Linked DNA regions of Homo sapiens: all the other regions are linked to region 4. Evidence: promoter capture Hi-C in 16 types of primary human blood cells and fetal thymus (Javierre and others, 2016). All regions are on one chromosome and are shown on one strand. The core of a region is centred on a gene start or on the middle of the fragment in contact, and the rest is flanking DNA. Distances in the headings are between cores, read along the strand shown.

The links. Contacts are between HindIII fragments. The CHiCAGO score rates a contact against its expected background, and 5 or more counts as called.
Region 1: the fragment with the promoter of BFSP2 here is called in contact with the fragment with the promoter of TMEM108 in region 4 in 6 of 17 cell types (megakaryocytes, endothelial precursors, erythroblasts and 3 more); the score reaches 21.7 in megakaryocytes.
Region 2: a contact is called between a fragment that was not itself captured here and the fragment with the promoter of TMEM108 in region 4, in 4 of 17 cell types (megakaryocytes, endothelial precursors, M2 macrophages and 1 more). The highest score is 11.1, in megakaryocytes.
Region 3: a contact is called between a fragment that was not itself captured here and the fragment with the promoter of TMEM108 in region 4, in 1 of 17 cell types (megakaryocytes). The highest score is 8.4, in megakaryocytes.
Region 5: a fragment that was not itself captured here is called in contact with the fragment with the promoter of TMEM108 in region 4 in 1 of 17 cell types (megakaryocytes); the score reaches 7.2 in megakaryocytes.
Region 6: a fragment that was not itself captured here is called in contact with the fragment with the promoter of TMEM108 in region 4 in 1 of 17 cell types (megakaryocytes); the score reaches 5.0 in megakaryocytes.
Region 7: a fragment that was not itself captured here is called in contact with the fragment with the promoter of TMEM108 in region 4 in 1 of 17 cell types (megakaryocytes); the score reaches 5.3 in megakaryocytes.

Annotation. Positions count from the first base shown.
Region 1 is chr3:133,398,696-133,401,472 of GRCh38, forward strand. It overlaps BFSP2 (beaded filament structural protein 2), which reads left to right and starts at 1,361. Exons shown (of 7, transcript NM_003571.4): 1 at 1,361-1,877. The coding sequence starts at 1,389. The HindIII fragment of the contact is 8,153 bases long and covers 1-2,777 here.
Region 2 is chr3:132,755,205-132,758,156 of GRCh38, forward strand. The region is part of intron 3 of NPHP3-AS1 (NPHP3 antisense RNA 1); the gene reads left to right. Among named protein-coding and RNA genes, the nearest start is that of NPHP3-ACAD11, 34 kb to the left of the region's middle. The HindIII fragment of the contact is 2,906 bases long and covers 1-2,771 here.
Region 3 is chr3:133,318,843-133,321,928 of GRCh38, forward strand. All of the region lies in intron 3 of TMEM108 (transmembrane protein 108), which reads left to right. Among named protein-coding and RNA genes, the nearest start is that of TMEM108-AS1, 63 kb to the left of the region's middle. The HindIII fragment of the contact is 1,567 bases long and covers 512-2,078 here.
Region 4 is chr3:133,037,032-133,040,106 of GRCh38, forward strand. TMEM108 (transmembrane protein 108) reads left to right here and starts at 1,360. Exons shown (of 6, transcript NM_023943.4): 1 at 1,360-1,404. RefSeq lists an enhancer at 1,054-1,348. The HindIII fragment of the contact is 5,754 bases long and covers 1-3,075 here.
Region 5 is chr3:133,347,934-133,350,815 of GRCh38, forward strand. All of the region lies in intron 3 of TMEM108 (transmembrane protein 108), which reads left to right. The region is part of intron 5 of LOC101927432 (a long non-coding RNA gene); the gene reads right to left. Among named protein-coding and RNA genes, the nearest start is that of BFSP2, 51 kb to the right of the region's middle. The HindIII fragment of the contact is 8,814 bases long and covers 1-2,882 here.
Region 6 is chr3:132,712,091-132,715,158 of GRCh38, forward strand. It overlaps NPHP3 (nephrocystin 3), which reads right to left. Exons shown (of 27, transcript NM_153240.5): 5 at 2,995-3,068; 6 at 1,036-1,196. It overlaps NPHP3-ACAD11 (NPHP3-ACAD11 readthrough (NMD candidate)), which reads right to left. Exons shown (of 45, transcript NR_037804.1): 5 at 2,995-3,068; 6 at 1,036-1,196. Among named protein-coding and RNA genes, the nearest start is that of NPHP3-AS1, 8.1 kb to the right of the region's middle. The HindIII fragment of the contact is 162 bases long and covers 1,738-1,899 here.
Region 7 is chr3:133,452,108-133,454,898 of GRCh38, forward strand. The region is part of intron 4 of BFSP2 (beaded filament structural protein 2); the gene reads left to right. All of the region lies in intron 2 of BFSP2-AS1 (BFSP2 antisense RNA 1), which reads right to left. Among named protein-coding and RNA genes, the nearest start is that of BFSP2-AS1, 38 kb to the right of the region's middle. The HindIII fragment of the contact is 532 bases long and covers 1,202-1,733 here.

The DNA of each region.
Region 1 (2,777 bases), core at 111-2,610, 360 kb after region 4:
TAGAACCTTGGGCAAGTCATTGCAGCTCTCGGGGTCCTCCTCACATAAGAGGACAGTGGCCAACTGTAGGACATGTCATTTTAGAGCTGTGAGGTACACAGCCCATATGGCAGTACCTGTCAACCCTGGACCTCCTTCCTCCTGAGGTTGAGTTGAGAATTCCACGAAATAAACCATAGGATTCATGCACACACCAGGCTGGATCTGCTACTCACTAGAGATTGACTCCCTTCTCCTTCTCTCACCTGAGGTACATTCCTACATTACAGCATCTGGAAAAGTATCCAGCTCTGGGGTTTGGTGACCTGGTTTCTCCAGGGTAAAACTTATGTACAGAGGTTTTTAGGTCCATGTTGTCATCCTGTAACTGGGGGAACCTTTCTGATCCTAGAGAAGTGATTGAGGTGTGACCCTTGGTGGCTTAGTGGATGCCAAGGTCAATAATTAAAACCCAGGGGTGTCATCATATCCTAACTTGGGGCACCCTTGGAGAGGCTTACCAGAAAACACCCTCGTTGTTGTTTTTATTTCTCAGTTTTCCAACAGATGGAGAAGCAGAGGTGTAGGGAATGGCCGGAACATGTGTGGGATCTGAATTTGCCCAAGGTCCTTATCTGGTGCATCAGAGAGTTAAAGGCCCAAGCCAATGTTCAGACAGTGAGGTCCAGAGGGAGGAAGCATCCTGGCCAACAGCAAGCAGCTGATGAACAGCAGAGCATTAGAGGACAGAGATGAGGAGGAAAGGAGAGAGGTGAGGGAAGGACCTGAAGCTGCTGCCAGGACTGAGAGAGGAAACCATAGGCAAGTCTTTTCTCTTGGGTCCCTGGAGCTGCCTCCTGCCATTTTTCATCCTCTATTGCCTGTGTGGACATGTGTTCACATTCACATGTGCCAGCACACATAGGGATGTAGAAAGCCCTGAAATAGCTAGATTGAGTCCTAGCTTGTAATCTGAGGTCTGGGGCAAGTGATCAGTACACTTGTCATCTGAGGTCCTTGAGCCTCAGTTTACTCATCTGTAAAATGGGGTTGCTTGATGCCTGCCTTGCCCACTTAGGTAGTAAAATGCACAAACCCAAATGGTCTACCTCCACAGCCTGCACTGATCCAGCCTCCCCCACCACCAGCAGAATAATCTGGGAGGTTGGGCACATGACCCTGCATCAAAGAATGCATGAGTGCCTCTCTGCACACAGCCCTGGGCAGTGCCCATTTCTCTTTCAGCTCAGTGAATGATGGAAACTCATGGAAGACAGCAGACAAAGCAGCCCCAGGGATAGGGGAGATTCCAGAGAGGCCCGTGACCAGGCCACAGGGATGCTGGGGCTGTAAACCAAAAGCCACTGGACTCTGTAAACCCACTGGGCACCACAGAGGCAGAAGGGGTGATGAGTGAGAGGCGAGTGGTAGTGGACTTGCCCACCAGTGCCAGCTCCAGCATGCCCCTCCAGAGGCGCAGGGCGTCCTTCAGGGGGCCACGGTCATCATCCTCCCTGGAGAGCCCCCCAGCCTCCAGGACCAATGCCATGAGTGGCCTTGTCCGAGCACCCGGGGTCTATGTAGGAACAGCACCCAGTGGGTGCATAGGTGGCTTGGGTGCCCGTGTGACCCGCCGGGCCCTCGGCATCAGCAGTGTCTTCCTTCAGGGCCTGCGGAGCTCAGGCCTGGCCACCGTGCCGGCTCCAGGTTTGGAGAGGGACCATGGTGCTGTTGAGGACCTAGGGGGCTGCCTGGTGGAATATATGGCCAAAGTGCACGCCCTTGAGCAAGTCAGTCAGGAGCTGGAAACACAACTGCGGATGCACCTGGAGAGCAAAGCCACACGCTCGGGAAACTGGGGTGCCCTACGGGCTTCCTGGGCCAGCAGCTGCCAGCAGGTAAGTGTCCAGGCTGTGCCAAGGGCTTTGCAGAGGGCTGGGAGGGGCTGCTGAAGGCAGCGGGTAGGGTTGTGAGTAGGCTGAGGCCAGAGAAACTGACCATAATCCCCTACACTTTCACACTTAAAATGGTAATGATAACAACAATGCTACCTTTTACCGAGGTTTACTAGGAGCCCACGCTAGCCCCCATACGTGCACTACCCACTGTCTTCTTTAAACTTCAAAGAAATGCTATGCAGTGGATCATTCACTGATTGCATTTTTCAGATGAGAAACTGAGGCATGTAATTTGCCCAAGACTTCAAAGCTAGTAGAGGGATGGAGATGAGATTTGAACCTGAATTTTTGTGCCTCCAAAGTTGCATTTGCCCCATTACCCTGGGGCTGCCTCAGTCACCTTTACTGTTGAGAAGGGATTTTTACAGCTATTATCCAATCAAATACCATTGGATGGATGAGGTGTTAAGAACAATGAATAAATGGAGGTGTGTTCCTGTATCCACCTACAACCACGCTGTTCAATAGAAATATGAACTACATTGGTAATTGACAAGTTTCTATTACCCACAGTAAAACACGTAAAAAGAAGCAGGTGAAGTTAATATTATAGCTTATTTAACTCTATATGTCCAGAATGTTATTTCAACATGTAATCAATACAAAATATATTAATGAGGTAATTTACATTCAAGTAGAGCTTTCTGCGTGATGGAAATATTAATATCTTATATCTGCACTGTCCAATCTGGCAGCCACTAGCCATATATGGCTATCAAGCACTTGAAATGTGGCTAATGAGACTGAGGAATTGCATTTTTATTTTATCTAATTTTCATTAATTTAAATGTAAACAGCCACAGGTAGCTAATGGCTATCTTATTGGACAGGGAAGGATGC
Region 2 (2,952 bases), core at 69-2,568, 280 kb before region 4:
GGATGTATATTATAAATATTTATTGTAGATTATTTGAAAATTATATATTAAATCTGAGAACTTTGATAGAAGAGGGTTTTGGTCTGAAACATATAAATAGAGGTGAATTAAAGCAAACAGAACCTATGATCCTTCACTTATACTATCATTTATGAGTGATTATTGTGGAAACTTTTAAATTAATTTCTTCTCTGGCAGAAAATACATATAGATATTACATTTCATTAAAAAATCTTTTCTAACAATGATTCTTCTCTGTTATCTCACTAATAAGGTCTTTAAAGTATCTTTTTCATTTCTAGCCTATAATGATAAAAACTATCATGAGAAATTTTTCTTCATTGTCCTAGGTTTCAAAAAAATTATACTTTACATATCTCAAAAATTTCCTGTCATTAAAATTGCACTTGTATTATAGGGGGAAAATTCTCATTTCATCAATGAGCCCTAAAAATGCTGATTGGGCAGTGCCTAAAGCCTTATGTCCTGATTGAATTATAACCTGGCACCTCACTCTGCTGCAGTCAAATCTTAGGGTGTTCACCAAACAATTTCTGGGCAAAGGGAGCAATTCAGGACAAAATAAGCCATGTTTTAAATTTATTCCTAGTCATGTGTAAGAGGGACCAGAAGCAGGAAGGTGGAGTTCCCTGGCTGTCTTTCTGGCTTCTTTCTGTGCCATTCATTCATTTAATTTTCAACAATGCTTGGCCTGTTTGCTATCTTCTGAGAGCTAGGGGTCCACTGGTGAGCAAAATCAGATGCTCAACTTATACTCATGGAATTTAGAGAGTTTAGGAGGAATGTGAATAGTAATAAAAACAAATTATGAGTATCAGTGTAAAATTGCAACTGTGAGAAGAGCTGCACAGGAGAGATTACTGGTACCTGGCCAGAGACATTAGGAAAGGCTCTCTGGGGGAGATACTGTTTGACCTAAAGTCTGAAAGGATGAGATGGAATTCCTTAACAGAAAGACCTTTTAGCAAGATGGGATTTAGTGACAGCAGAGAACCAAAAGAAGGATGCAATGGCCAGAACAGATTGCTGAGGGGCAGTGTGGAACTAGAAGAAGCTGGAGATGTGAGCAGGAGCCAGAGAATTCTGGCCTTCATACACCATGGTAAGGAGTTCCCTCTTTATCCCCAAAGCCATGAGAGGCCTTTAAAGGGCTTCGAGTAGTGGTATGTAGTGGTTTGACATGGTCAGATTTGCATTTTGGAAAGATGCCCACTCTGGCTGCAAGGCTGAAACAGATTGTAGGGAGCGATGGTGGTTGGGGAGAGATTAGTTAGGGGGTTACTTTGGAATCCACATGAACCAGGGGAGTGGCCTAAAGTAGCATCGTGGTGGAGGTGGAGAGTAATGGTTATATTTAAGAAAGTTCAGTTTGGAGAGTGGGGGAGAGGGGGCCAGGAGTGAGGCCTAGTTTTCTGGATATGAGACTGGAGAAATGGGGATACCATTTGTTGAGTTAGGAAGCAATGGAGGTGGAAGACCTGGTTTTCAGTAAATGATCATCAATTTTTGTTTCTAATACATTGAGTTTGTAGTTTCTTTGAGGCTCCTGAGGGGAACTGTCAAGGAAGTTTTTGGGTATTGGGGGTCTATTTAGGGATCCCCTGCACTCTGGGCCACGGCTATGCCTGGCCTTTTGGGGGACATTTAAATTTCCCTCACAAACTTTGGAATCTATGTTGGGTTTAGATTTTGGAGGTGAATTCTTTGGCACCAGCCTGTGCTAAATTTCCTCTTAGAAGTTCCAACAGCCCCTAAGGGTCCTGTTGGAACAGAACTCCTCACTCCTCTCCACACACAGCTGCCTTGAACTTCTACCCCATGTCTAGTATCTCCTTAAGTCTTCTTTGAGCTACAGGGAGAGATGACTCCTGGAAATTGCATCCTCAACGCTGGTCAATTTCTTTCCATCTTATCTAGTCTGTTTGAACCATATTCACCAGCAGGCTGTTAGGTCTGGTTCTGTTTATCGATTTGCCTGTGGATCTGTGCTTAGTTGTTTGATGAGGGGCCTTTAATGGTAACCTCTTCTTCCAAGGGCATTATCAGTTTCCTGTTGCTTCTCGGCTGCCTCCAGCTTATACTTCTCATTTCATTTTATTTCAGCTGGAGCTACTTATTAAATGTCATGAAAACTTCCTGCTTATCAGTAGGAGTTTCTGCAGTTCTCAGCTATAGGTAGACCTGAGAATATTGACAAGTGTTGAGCTTACTCATATCACTAGGTTCTGTTTGATAGTTTGTCTCTTAGATAACTACTTCAAAGCAAATTTCTAGAATCCTGTACTTTCAATTTTATAACAAAAAAAATGCTCAGCAAATACAGTAACGACAAATCATTTCCTCTCAAAAGAGCAAGATCATTTTCAGTATATAGATGTCTATTTTTTAACATTGATTGACTCTTTCATATACTTTTTAATTTATTTGACAAATATTTCTTAGGCCCATCTCATGGGTTGAATTAGAAGGAAGAATTCCTTCTATTTCCTTCTATGTCTTTCACTTAGAAATTGACCAAGGACATTTCTGCCGTCCAATTAATCCAGGGAAAAATTAATGGTTCAAATGCTCCTGGCAGCAATAAAGTTAACTAATTTTTACCCAACTTCTCAAAAACTTAATGCTCAAAAAAAAAGAAAGAAAGAAAAAAAAGCCCTTATTCACTTGTTAGAAACACTTTGCTGATTTATTTCTCAACATCCCACTTCTGGTATATTAAAAATACTGACTGGAATGTTTATAAACCTGTAAGCTTCATTCACAATTCTGTGTGAATCTACCTTGTCATAAGATTTTTATTTTTGTCTACTTTAAGTTTAGGCTGCAGAGATAACTTGGCTCACTGTGTCATCTTTTAATTATCATAGATATGTCTACGATAGATAATTTAATTAAAACACCTTGAATATATCTGCAAAAATAAAATGAGAT
Region 3 (3,086 bases), core at 45-2,544, 280 kb after region 4:
CCACTGCAGGAGCATAACAGGAAAACCAAAATAATTTCTAGATCCTTTGAAAGAAGCAGCAAATTCTGCGAGATAGGCAAAAAAAAAAACTCAGGGGAAGTGTATAGCCTGGGGCTAGGTCTGAGTCCTGTGGACAGGCTGCCTGGAGATAAACTCAGCGCTGTTTGCAGGCCACAGTGGGAGAGAGATTGGCCTCACCAAATGCATGGGAGCTGGGTGAGGCCCATCACAACTGGCTTTCCCCCACTTCCCTGGTGACAGAGGCAACCCTAATCCCCTCTGGAACATAACCCCGTTGGCCCAAGAACCACCCCTTTATCCCCCATGGTAGCTACGGCAAGCCCTTGCCCAAGAAGAGTCTGAGCTGGGTCCTGCCTAACACTGCCCCCGCCTGATGATTTTTCTCTACCTGTCCCGGTAGCCAATCACGAAAGACATAAACTCTTGGGAGCTTTATGACCCTGACCATTGCCTCAGAAACCTGAATACTTATCCTGGCCAACTTAGGGCAAGCTTATATCCCACTTCTGTTGCAGCTGGTGCTTTCTTGAAAGCACGACCTCCTGGCTGTAGGCCAACCAACTCAGGACATTACGGAAACTCATGACAGAACAACCCTGCTGCAAGGAAGGAGAAAACATCTAATTCCATTGCATGCAACATTCTGGCTGACCAGTGGTCCTGAGTCTGTCCACATGACAACTTCACTGCTAACATAACTAGCATTCAAGAAAGCTAGTACACTAAACATATCTAAAACCAAGGACTCTCACAGAGTCTACTTCACTCCCCTGCCACCTCCACCAGAGCAGGTGCCGGTATCCATGTTTGGGAGACCTGAAGATGGATTGCATCACAGGACTCTTTGCAGACATTCCCTAGCGCCAACCCAGAGCCTGGTAGCCCCACTGGGTTGCTAGACCCAGAAGAACAACAATCACTGCAGTCTAGTTCACAGGAAGCCCCATCCCTAGGGGAAGGGGACCCTTCATGGGACCTTCATGAGTCCTTCATGAGACCACCTCATGGGACAAAAGAATCTGAAGAGCAGCCCTTAAGTTCCAGATTTTTCCACTGAAATAGTCTACCCAGATGAGAAGGAATCAGAAAAGTAATTCAGACAATATGACAAAACAAGGTTCTGGCTGGGCGCAGTGGCTCATGCCTGTAATCCCAGCATTTTGGGAGGCTGAGGTGGGAAGATCACTTGAGCCCAGGAGTTCAAGACCAGCCTGGGCAACATAGACTCCATCTCCACATTTAAATAAAACAAGGTTCTATAACACTCCAAAAAGACCATACTAGCTCCCCAGCAGTGGATTCAAACCAAGAAGAAATATCTGAATTGCCAGATAAAGAGTTCAGAAGGTTGATTATTAAGTGACTCAAGGAAATACCAGAGAAAGGTGAAAACCAACTTAAAGAAATTAAAAAATATATACAGGATATGGATAAAAAATGCTCCAAAGAAATAGCTATCATAAAGAAAAAAAAAACAATCACAACTTCTGGAAATGAAAGACACACTTAGAGAAATACAAAATATACTAGAAAGTTTCAACAGTAGAATCAAACAAGTAGAAGAAAGAACTTCAGATCTTGAAGACAAGTTTTTCAAGTTACCCAATGAGAAAAAGACAAAACAAAATGAACAAAGCCTCCAAGAAATTTTGGATTATGTTACATACACAAATGTAAGAATAATTGGTGTTCCTGAGGAAGAAGAGAAATCTAGAAGTTTTGAAAACATATTTGGGGGAATAATCAAGGAAAACTTTCCTGGCCTTGCTAGAAATCTAGACATCCAAATACAAGAAGCTCGAAGGAAACCTGGGAAATGCAACACAAAAAGGTCATCACCCAGGTGCGTAATCATCAGGTTATCCAAAGTCAAGACAGGGAAAAAATCTTAAGAGCTGTGAGGCAAAGTCATCAGGTAACCTATAAAGGAAAACCTATTAGATTAACGGCACATTTCTCAGCAGAAACCCGACAAGCCAGAAGGGATGGGAGTTCTATCATTAACCTCCTCAAACAAAATAATTGCTAGCCAAGAATTTTGTATTGAGCAAAAACTAAGCTTCATAAATGAAGGAGAGATAAAGTCTTTTTCAGACTAACAAATGCTGAGAGCATTTGCCACTCTCAAGCCAGCACTACAAGAAATTCTAAAAAGAGATCTAAATCTTGACACAAAACCTTAAAATACACCAAAATAGAATCTTCTTAAAGCATAAATCTCACAGGGCCCATAAAACAATAACACAAAAAAACAAGGCATTCAGACAACAACTAGTACAATGAATAAAACAGTATGTCACATCTCAATAACATTGAATGTAAAATGGATTAAATGTTCCACTTAAAAGATAGAGAATGGCAGAATAGATAAAAATCCACCAACCAAGTATGTGCTGTCTTCAAGAGACTCACCTAACACATAAGGACTCACAGAAACTTAAGGTAAAGTGGTGGGGAAAGATATTCCATGCAAATGGTCACCAAAAGTGAGCAAGAGTAGCGATTCTTATATCAGACAAAACAAACTTTGAAGCAACAACAGTTTAAAAAGACAAAGAAGGACATTATATAATGATAAAAGGATCAATCCAACTGGAAAATATCACAATCCTAAATATATATGCACCTAACATTGGAGCTTCCAAATTTATAAAACAATTATTACTAGACATAAGAAATGAGATAGACAGCAACAAAAAAATACTCCACTGACAGCACCAGACTTCAGTACTCCACTGACAGCACCAGACAGGTTATCAAGACACAAAGTCAACAAAGAAACAATGAACTTAAACTATGCCCTAGAACAAATGGACTTAACAGATATTTACAGAACATTCTACCCAATAACTGCAGAATATACATTCTTTTCATCATCACATGGAACATTCTCCAAGACAGACCATATGATAGGCCACAAAACAAATCTCAATGAATTGAAGAAAGCCAAAATTATACCAAGTGCCCTCTCAGACCACAGTGGAAAAAAACTGGAAATTAATTCCAAATGGAACCCTCAAAACTATAGAAATACATGAAAATTAAATAATCTGCTCCTGAATTAT
Region 4 (3,075 bases), core at 110-2,609:
GTCTGAGATTGCTAGGTGGGCTTCACTTCTGGGGATGAGAAGCCAGAGAAGTTCAGGACACACTGACAAAGGTGAAGTTTTCTCTAAGCGACAGTTTGATCACCTTGATAGTGAGAGAGAAATGCTGAAGCAGGGTTATACCACCTGGTTTCAAGAGATGAGAGATGAAGGTTTTGGAGAATTCAGCACTTAAGAATCTTGAACCACGGCGGTACACTACTGGGTAATAAGAGCTTGGCTACGCTGAACGACAAAGGTTCTAGCTGGCCAGTCCGAAAACACTGAGTCCTTAGGTCAAATTTGAGAAATGACAGGGCCAGTGGGAGTCCTAACTTCTAGACTCTGGAATTACTGACAGAAGAATATTTGGACAGTTTTTAAGACCCTCAAGGCATATTATTTTACAACCTCTTTAGCTTATGCCTGAATTTGTGCTGTGACTGTTAGCTTCCCGGATGTTTTCTCCACATGCTTCTTTCTGAACTAGCCTGTATAGTTCTACAACAAATTGTTACGTTTTGAGAAGCAGGGACCACTTATACCACTTCTCTGGCCAAGTGTCTGGCACCGCGCCACTCAGACACACACGCCCAACCCTTTAGGATTAACGTAGACACAGTGTTCTCTTCCATGGCCATTCCGTCTCCACTTCTGGTTCCACACTCCAGTCACCAAGTTGGCATGATTGCTGCTCCATAGACCAAGGGTGGGTAATGTGGGGATTAAACACACCTTCCCTCAGCTGGTGCCCAAACTGTAAGCATCACCGGGACACCCCATGTAGCCACAGGAACGCTTCTCATCAGTGGAAGAAGGACAAGAAAGGTCGTGCAAGTTTCAAATTACGTGGAGCTGGGGCTACAGCCATTACTTTCGGACAGGTGCAATTCAAAGCGTGATCCTCCGACCAAGAGCTTCGTCATCGCCACCTGGGAGCTTATTAGAAATGCAGGATCTCAGGTCTCCACCCCAGACCTTCTGGATCAGAATCCGCATTTTAACAAGAGAGTCAAGTGATTCTTATTTATATTAGAATTTGAGAAGTCAATTGATCTGGTAATTGATCAACTGAGTGCCACTTAGCCCCCGAAAACAGAGACCCTTTGTGCCCGCCTCGCACCCGCTCTGCTAGGTAGCAACCGAACCCCCAGAGACATCGGAGCGGGCGCTGCCGAGGGCAATTTGGTGATTGGCTGGTCTCACCACGTGACCGGCGCTGAGCCTTCCGTGCGACCGGATTGGCTGTCGCGGACGCTGACGGACAAGGCCGGGGCGGGCCAGAGCCTGGTCGGAGGGGCGCGCGCGGGGGCCCGAGGGGCGAAGGCGCGAGTGCGCGAGAGCGCGTGCGCGAGCGGTGGGGCTTTCTCCTGAGCCGTCGGAGGGAGCCGGAGCGCTTCTCCCGAGGTAAGCGGCGCTCCGGGGCGTCCCCCCAGTCCTTCCCATGCTGGGTCCCGGCAAGCGGGTTAGGCTGGGCTGGGCGGGGCTCGGGGAGGTGTGGGGTCAGCTTGCCCCGGGAGCCCAGCTTCAGGGAGGATGCAGCCCCGGTTGCCTTGGTTTCCCTTTTCCTATCCTCTCAGGCACCTTCCCATCCTCCCCACTGCGTGACGGGTCTGCCCGAGGGGAGTTGCCCACCTGGCAGCCCTGCCTCCGCCTTTGTTTCCCGCCTGGAGGGTTGCTGGCATGAACCCCCTCCCCAGGTGGAGGGTGCGGGTGATGGGGCGCGGGCGTCAGGAGCGCTGGACCTGGGCTGGGGCCGAGGAGGAGGTGGCTTTAATGCAGGGGGACCTGTCACATGGGGAAACGAAGAAGAAGAAATGTAGTGTCACTTTGGCCAGCCCGAGGGACTCGAACTAATCCTGCGGCCGCGAGCGGAGCCGAATTCCTAGCGCAGCTGTGCGAAGAGCCCTCCTGCCTAGGTGCCGGCGGCCTCGCCGGGGACGGAGCCTCCGTGCTGCCCGGGAGGTTGCTCTGCCGGCTGGACCTGGCGGTTTTCACCCCAGAGTTGCAGCGAAATTGAACGCTTTGAGCCTGCTGGAGGAATCCAGAGATTGGTTCAGGGGCTATTTTTTTTTTTAAGCAGTTGGGCACCGGTGGAGCCGGTCTAAATGAAAGTCTACAAAAACCAATTTCAGATGCAGCGTAACTGATGACTGGTAAATGGTGAGGAGGGAAATGCCTGCAGTGAACTGCAGACCACCACACTGAGATTCTTCCTTAAGAAGATAGGGGTTTTTTTCGGAGGAAAGGTTGTAGTTTCTGCAAACAGGTTTTTCTGGGGGTACCCAGGAAGGTTATTACTTATTTTCAGCATGTTACTGGGTTGTGGGGAGAGGGAAGGCAGGGTCTAAACTAAACCTACTCACACGTCCTTAATTCTTTGAAAAGTGTGTGCTCGATGAAGACCATTTGGCTGCCAAAAGAGGTTTGTATGGGAGTCCGGGGGAGATGGATTGTTGCCTTTAAATCATACTTTAAAAAGGGGAAGGTATGTCCAGGAACTTAAGAGCAGGTCAAGCTATGGAAAGTATTCCCTGCCTCTCCTCCATTTCCCCAGACAGCTCATAGGCAAACATAAAAAGTCCCTTCAATTTTCCACGGGTTAACTTCTTGATTTGTTGGATACACCTGGTAATCTACTCTGTAAGAAATGGTTCAACTAACTCATTATGAAGATATTACTGTGTTCTGGACTTTCCACGTAATTTATTCAGAACTCTTTCTGGTATGAGATGGATAAGGGTCTCTCTACCTTGTCCCTTGGAGACATCCTGATACCTTCAAAGCCCTTTATAGCTCTTACATTCCCTGTACAACAACATGTTTCTTTAGGAAATGACCTGATTTCAAACCTCTAAAACACACCCCATGCCTGTGAAATGCCTACACTTGCCAAGAATTCAGTTTACTAGGCAAGATAAATATATTTTTTTAAGAGGGAACACCTAAATTTGTTAGGGGTATCAAATTCAGGTTTATCAGCCACCGGAAATCAAATTTTGTCGGTTTTCTGAGATGAATGAAAGTAAAAGAACAAGTTGCTGCAAAGCTCATTTAGAATATCACAAATGACCCTAG
Region 5 (2,882 bases), core at 281-2,780, 310 kb after region 4:
AAAGGGAGATTTAATATTGCCAGGATTGCCCAAATTAGTTATAATAAATAGCCTTATTGAAATCCAAATCAAAATTCTAATAATGGAATTCTTAATTAACCTATGGAAAATGAGTCCAAAGTTTATCTAAAAGTATAAACAGAAACAAGTAGTAAAGATATTTTTGAAAAACAAGAGTAATGAGGGGGGGGCCAGATTTGCTTTACCAAAAATCAAAACATGTCATTAAGTAATATTAATCAAAATATTGTATTACAAATATAAGAGAACAGATTAGGGTAACTAGATAGCCCTGAAACAGTTTGTTTATAACAGTTTTATTATATTTTTAAAATTTAAATATAATAAAGGTAGCAGTTCAAAATCTGGGCAAAGGATAAGTCAGTAAATGGTATTAGGAGAATTAATTACTTGGAAAAAATAAGTTAGAGCTTCATCACACACAGTATATCAAGGTAAATTACAAATGGATTGAACTTTTTGTCTTTGGTTTCTCAGGAAACCTTGGGGAGAAGTCTTAGTATAGGGCATTTAGTGTTGAGTGCACTGGGAGATAGAGTGAAGCGGAGTGGAGGCGGGCAGTCCCTCTAATACATGCTAATATGAAGAGCTCAGCTGACTCCACAGGTAGCTGGGGAGCTGGGCTAGCCCATCACAGCTGTCCCAAATTGAGACAAGGGCCTGTGTTCCCTGACATCAACCAGGTGTTGAATGTGGGATTTACCCTGGAGGGGCATGGTGTAGGGTGAGGCAACTCCCTTTGGCTCAGTGAGATTTCTGGGAGAGAGATTGAACAATGAGCCATCAGCATCCAACAGTCCAAGAAATTCGGGAATGAGAGCCTAAGTCTTCAAGAGGGGACCTGAGTGGCACACAACATCCACTACATAGTGTAGAAGATGAAATTATAAAACAAATAGAGGAAAATATTGGTAAATATTTCCAAAAACAGGATTGGGAAGGACTTTTCTTTGGTCAAAAACAAAACAAAACTCCATAGACAAAACAAAATCAAAGGCAGACAAACTATTGGGGGAAAATATTTTCAGTAAACATGATTGTTACCAAGTTTCTAGCCTTGACATATTAAAAAATACTCACAATAGATTTTTAAAGACTAATATTACAGGAAAAAAGCAGACAGTGCTCTTGAGCAAAAGAAAATATACAGGTGAGCAATAAACTTCTGGAAAAGTGTTCAATTTCATTAATAGCCAAAGGAATACAAATATAATACTATTTTTCCCCTTTAAGTTGACCAAAACTGAGGCCTATAGAGTTTAAGTAACTTCTTCAAAGTCCCATCACAGGAACATAACAGAGGAGGCATTCAAATCTAGGGTTGAATGCTGGTTTAATGTGGCACAATATAAACACATGTAATCAAAGCCTCATTAAATAGTAAAGGGATTATTTAAAATAGTAGACCAGAAGAACAAAGAAAACAGGAGAGCAAACACAGCAATATAATTTAAGAAGTTAAAAGCACAGGCAACAAAAGCAAAAATAGACAAATAGGATTACATGAAACTAATAAACATTTGCACAGCAAAGGAAATAGCAGAGTGAAGAGATGGCCTAAAGAATGGGAGAAAATATTTGCAAATTATACATCTGACAAGGGGTTAATATCCAGACTATATAAGGAACTTAATAGCAAAAAAAAAACTAACCTGATTTTTAAATGAGCAAAAGACCTTCACAGACATTTCTCAAGATAAACAAATGGCCAACAGATACATGAAAAAATGCTCATTACTAACCATGAGGGAAATACAAATCAAAACCACAATGAGATACCATCTCATCCAGTTAAAGTGACTATTATTTTAAAAGAGACAAAAGAAAACAAGTGCCGGTGAGGATGTGGAGAAAAGAAAACACTTGCACACTGTTGGTAGGATTGTAAACTAGTACAGCCATTATGGAAAACAGTATGGAAGTTCCTCAAAAAATTAAAAATAGAGCTACCACATGATCCACCAATCCCATTACTGTATATATATCCAAAGGAAATCAGTATATCAAAAGATATCTGCACTCTTAGGGTTATTGCAGCATTATTCAAAATAGTGAAGATATGGAATCAACCTAAGTATCCAACAATGGATGAATAAAGACAATGTGGTATATGTACACAATGGAATACTATTCAGCCATAAAAATGAAGGAAATCCTGTCCTTTGCAACAACATGGATCAGCTTGGAGGACATTATGTTAAGTGAAATAAGGCAGCCACAGAAAGACAAATACTACATGATCTCACCACTCATATGTGGTATCTAAAAAAAGAAAAAGAGGTGATATAGAAGCAAAGAGTAGAACAGTGATTACTAGAGACTGGGAGGGGAGGAAGGAGAGAATGGGGAGAGGATGGTTAATAGGTAAAAGGTTACAACCAGGAGAAATAGGTTCTAGTGTTCTATTGAACAGTAGGGTGACTATGGTTAATAGTAAAACATTGTGTATTACTAAATACTAGAAGAGAGGCTTGTGAAGGTGGTTCTCACCACAAAAAAAAAGATGATAAATGCATGAGGTAATAGATATGCTAAATACCCTGATTTGATCATTATACAATGTAGATATTAACCAAAACATCAAATTGTTCTCTATAAATATGTACAATTCCAATTTGTCAATTAAAAAATAAAAACCAAAATCTAGAAAACAAATGGAGAAAGGGTAACTTCCTTGGAAACCTGATGAAGTTGAATCCTAAACTAGGAGTCAGGAAGACCTAGAACCAACTATAGAACCTCCCAAAACCTTAAGATTCGGCAGTAATTCCAGGAACCCCTGGGAATGGGGGTGGAGGTGGAACTACAGGTCAGAGAATTGGTTGAATGACTATGGAAACACCAAGCATTGTATACAAAAA
Region 6 (3,068 bases), core at 569-3,068, 320 kb before region 4:
TTATCTCTATATCTAACTGGTGAAAAAAAATCTTTACTTGCAGACAAGATTCATTAGCATGATTATATTCACATTATAAGAACATTGTTCACTTTACTGGGTCTATTTAAATAGTAAGCTCCTCAAAAAATGTAAATTATGATTCAACACCTACACAAGTGATCAAGTACATGAACTTTATATGTAAAATACATAGTTCAAATACCTCTCAGTTTGTATCCAAAGAAAGAAAAGAATGAAGGTTAATGTTGATTATTGAAATTAGGGGTTATCAACTTTTTCTGTAAAAGGCCAGATAGTAAACAACTCAGGTTTTGTAGGACACATGGTTTCTGTTGTAAAGATTCAACTTTGCTATTATAGTATGAAGGCAGCTGTAGAAAATACACGAATGGGCCAGGTGTGTTGGCCTACGCCTGTAATCCCAGCACTTTGGGAGGCCAAGGCAGGGGGATCACAAGGTTAGGAGATTGAGACCATCCTGGCTAGCACAGTGAAACCCCATCTCTACCAAAAATACAAAAAATTAGCCAGGCGTGGTGGTGGGCGCCTATAGTCCCAGCTACTCAGGAGGCTGAGGCAGGAGAATGGTGTGAACCTGGGAGGTGGAGCTTGCAGTGAGCCGAGATTGCGCCACTGCACTCCAGCCTGGACGACAGAGCAAGACTCTGTCTCAAAAAAAAAAGAAAAAAAAATTTATATATATATGAATGAATGAATGTGGCTGTGTTCCAATAAAACTTTATTTACAAAAGCAAACTCCTGGCTAGATTTGGCCCTTGGGCTATATTTGCCAAACTCTGATTAAAATAAGCTAAAAATTAAGGTGTTGATCATATGACCTATGAAACAAGTCTAACAGCTTAAAACTTTTAATTATTTTATTTAAGTGTGAAACAGTTGTAGAATTTATTGAATTTCATGGATTTTTTTATTATAAGGATGCAATAAAATTTATCTTTGAAGCTTATTTGGCAAACTCAATTCTATTTACAGTTTACTGCTTATAATAAATTACATTTTTTTTCAGCTTACCTTGGTAATGTTAAGTGAATAAATAAAATAACTAAAGAACTTTTCTCAATTTCCCATTTTCTTACAGTGAGGTATTGATTTTCAACATCTATTGGAAAATAAACAGCATGGAAAAAATATCCCATTGTCTCGCACATTCTCTTAAGTTTAGGTGAATAGTCCTAAAAACAAATGAAAACATACAAAAGTTTAATGTATTTAACTAAAGATCAAGTGAGATTCATACTACTTAAAATAAAAAGCACGCTTTAAAACAGGTTATACTGGATATCTTTTCATATAAAATTTTAAAAATAATCACATTTTAAAGAAAATCTTAAAAAGGCAAGTTTCTCTCAAATACAAATAATAATAGCTTAGCAACTTGGCCTTTTTCTAGCTCAGAAAATGACTTATTTCATAGTAAAGCTAGAACAACAGGAGACAGTATTAGGCTATTTTGCTTTGGTATTTGTTTCTTTTTGTTATTATTACTATGAACAATCTGTTTTATTGTCATAAAGAGTGCAAAATATAGATCCATAAATCTGTATAGTAAAAAACATCCACGATGATATATCAGAACGCTAAAGCAGAGCGATATAAGTTAAAAACACATAAATCTATAATTAAGTTAGTAAGTAATGATGACTATTATTATGAAAGAAATCAGTAATGCCCTCAAAATGTCGTTGGGAATAACATTTTCAATTACTGGATGGAAGCTTTGGGCTTTAAAATATTTTATCTTTTTACTAAAATTGAATAATATCACAAAGGAAAGCTAAATGAATTTGGTAATCAACAACAGGGAAGATGTTAATATAGCAGGTATAGCATGTGACACACAGATTCTATAAAATTCCCTTGGAACACTGGTAGGCAAGCTTTTTATATAAAGGGTTAGATAGCAAATATGTCTACAAAAATAATAATAGCTTTACAACTTGGCTGCTTTAGCAGGGATCTTTGTGGCTTATTTGGTTTCTATCACAATTTACTCTGCCATTGAATTGGTGTTGTAGTGCTGCCATGGATGATACGTAAACGAATGAGTGCAGCAATGTTCTAATAAAACTTGATAGACACTAAGATTTGTATTTCATATAATTTCCACATGTCATAAAATATTATTCTCCTTTTGATTTTTTTCTACCACTTAAAATGTGAAAACCAATCTTATCTCTGGGCCATTTAAAACAGGCAGCAGGCCAGATTTCACCAACTGGCTATAGTGACCCTTGCCTTAGAATAACTCCAACGGCTGCCTTGGAAAATTTAAACCACAGTAAGGAGAAAATTTTACTACCTGAGACAGACTCAAGGATAGAGCTGGAAGAGAGAGTAACTAAAGTAGACACAATCAACAAGAGTCTTAAACATTGTGGAGAATATGCAATGAAAAATTCACTAAACAAGCCTAGGCAACACAATGAGTCACTTTCTCTGCAAAAAAAAAAAATAAATAAATTAAATTAGCCGTATGTGGTGGTGTGTACCTGTAGTCCTAGCTGTTCTGGAGGACTGAGTGGGAAGATTGCTTGAGCTCACGAGTTTTAGGCTACAGTGAGCTATGACTGTGCCACTGCCCTCCAGCCCAGGCAACAGAGCAAGACACTGTCTCAAAACAAGCAAACAAACACACAAACAAAAAAAAGTCCAGAAAGTTCCAACACCTTAGTTTGACATTTAAAACTAACTAAAACGAGTTAAAACCTTCTTTTTCTGTCTTAGCTCCTGTCCTAGGAAAGTTAATTCCAGAAAGTAAAAATAAATAAATAAACTCTCAATTCACCACCTTTCTTTACATATAATATTGAACAATATTTTCTCTTAAGAAAAGCCCAAGACGCTTCCTGTTCTTTAAGACATATAATCTAGTAGGAAACTATTTGGTTGAGATACAGTAGTATCAGAAACAGAATATAATATTAACTTATATTTTAAATTGGTTGATACAGAATTTATAAATATCCTCACCTTAAGGAAAAGATCCATCTCAGGCTGGGTTTCATCTGTATAAATGAGGTAACATCTGACAGTGTTACTCCACA
Region 7 (2,791 bases), core at 218-2,717, 420 kb after region 4:
TGATTTTTAAAGCTCTCTGGATGATTCTAATATGCAGCCAGATTTGAGAACCATAAGAATTATAAAAAGCTATGAAAAGAAAAATAGGAGAGGCTTTTCTGTCCTTTCTCCCACCATACTCCCTCTATCCCCCAAGTATCAACAAGAACCTTCCCAGCAGGGTCTTCATCAATTCTGGATTCCCAAAATGTTCTCCAGCCTAGAAAACATCCTTTCACTCACCCATTTCTCCAACCCCTACCCCGTTTCAATAGCTTCCTTTCTTTCTAACCACCAATCATTGAGCCAGGTCACTACAAACACTTTTTTATGGCAAATAGAGCCTAGTTATTCAAAAAATGACTTCCCCTCGCCCCACCCAACCTGATGAGAAGTGGAGCAACACAGAGGTAAAGTGAAGCCATAGATTTGAGTTTGGTCCATTGCCTTTTTTAACAGACTCATGACAGATAACAGATAATTAATGGTCCTAGAGACCATCTGATCCCATTCCCTAATTTTAGGTGTGAGGAAACTGAGACCCAGAGAGTGCAGGTGACTTCCCACGATCACACAGCTGGTTGAGAGCTCCATAGTTCAACTCTCCTGTTCTTGGTCCAGAGACCTTTTCTCTGCATTGGGCTGCATCGTTTCTCCCCTGGCTCTGCTTCTAAAGCTAAACCTCAGAGGCCCAGCAGTTTGCAAACTTTGCTTCTGTCCCAGCCCTCCTGCGGTGTGCACCACACTGTGGTAACTGTTTCTTTGGGAAAGGACAGACTATTATAATTATCAGAAATAAATCCTTCATAGTATGAAAAAGAAAAAAAAAAGGTCATTATTATCTCCTCCTCACCCCTTGGAGAATCATCACTAGCCCAACAGTAACTCAAACATTAATTCTGAACAGATTCATTAGTGTTTTTTTAATAGAGTAATCTGAAAGCTACATCTCAGAGAAAACAGACAGTATTTGTTTTAGCTTGGCCAATGCTGCCTGGGCCTCTTGCAGAAAGGCAGAGCTCAGAAAATATTTGCAGAATGAGTGAATTCCTCTGATCATCAACAGAGATCTGAACTGACAGCCAGAATTCCTCCAATAAATAGTTTTGTCAGTTGCAGTTGTGCCCTCAGGGGCTGACATTTGCCCATCCTGAGCATCTCTTGTCGGTTTCTTGGCGGCATAGCATAAATGTGAAATGGCTTAGCACACACAGCTTTCAAAAGCTTTTGTAAAGAAAATGCAAGCATGCATTTAATTACCTTTCGGACCACAGAGGCTGAAAATTAATTAACATGATTAATTTATATCTTAGTTTAGGTTCCTTCAGAAGCAGATCCTGAAACAAATATTGGAGTTAAGGTAGTTTACCTGGAAGTTGGGGAGTTAAAAACCAACAAAATACCAGTAGAGGAGAAGCAAAGAAGGGAACCAACAAAGAATGCCTAATCAAACCAGTTACCACTGTGGGAGACTGACGTGTAAACCAAGAAGAATTGTGAGAAACGGTATAGACTACAGGAGAGGGGAAAGGCAAGGGAGCTGAGATGTTAATACCATCTCCCAACAGTTTTCTGCCATCTGCTATCAGAGTGGCCTTCCAAAGGCTTCAGAGAAACTCTCAGGCAAAAAGATGCAGAATCTGGCAGGGGGAACAGGAGAGCACTAAACTGCGAAAGCCTAAGGGATAAAGGTGGTACCATCAGCATCTGCTAGAACTTATCTGCCAATTCTGTTTATTTTTTCAGTCATTAAAAGCTTAATAAAATAGAGACATAAAAAAATTTATTAAGAGGTTCTGGCTAAGGTCAGTGCAGTATTCATATTCTTTCCAGCTATGGTGTTACGAATGTCAGGAACCTCATGGTCCAGTTTTTGAAGCTTCTGAAGTTGTATGATTCAGTGATGACAGGATCAGATTGGTCCAGAGAATTTCTGGAGGGTCTTAAAGTCTAGTTCTTCCTTGTCTATTTGTTGTGGTTACCTAATGCAGGGTACTCAGGGATGCTTCAGGAACCTCAGACAACATGCCACACCACACTCTAGACCTCCTAGTTAGTCAAGTAAAACAAAACAACTTTTTTTTTAAGTTGGGCACTGTGGCATGTGCCTGTAGTCCTAGCTATTCAGGAGGCTGAGGCAGGAGGATTGCTTGAGGCCAAGAGTTCAAAGGAGAAGTACACTATGATCATGCCTATGGATAGCCACTCTACTCCAGCCTGGGCAACATGGTGAGACCCCATCTCTTTTTTAAAAAATCCTTTTTGTCCCCTATGCTCTTACAAAATGCTTCTGACACCAAATATGTAGGTTTGTTCCACACCAAGCAGATCTCCAAACACCAACTGAGTGTCCTATAATTCAATTCAATCCTGACACTACCTGCCTGAAGTAGTATCAGATCCCACAGGTTAAGGGCTCAGTCCCATAAGACAGCCCTCACTTCAGATGACAAGTCTGGCCCTCCCATACTTCGGATGAACTGGCTATAAATTAGGGGTTCCCACAACCTCCTCTGCAGAGGGATAAGTAGATAGTTTGCTAGAACAGTGCCCAGAACTCAAGGAAACACTTTACATATTTTTGCCAGCTTATTATAAAGGATACAATTCAGGAGCAGCCAAATGGAGGAGATGCTTAAGGCAACGTATGTGAGAAGGGGCACAGAGTCCCCAACTCCAAATTTTTGACTCTATTATAATAACACTTGGCTTAAAATGCAAACACGTCATACAGCTATACAAAAATATTCTTTCTTTTATCCTTATTCTATAAGCTTGTTTTCTATTTTTAAGAGGGGGTTTTTTTAACCTT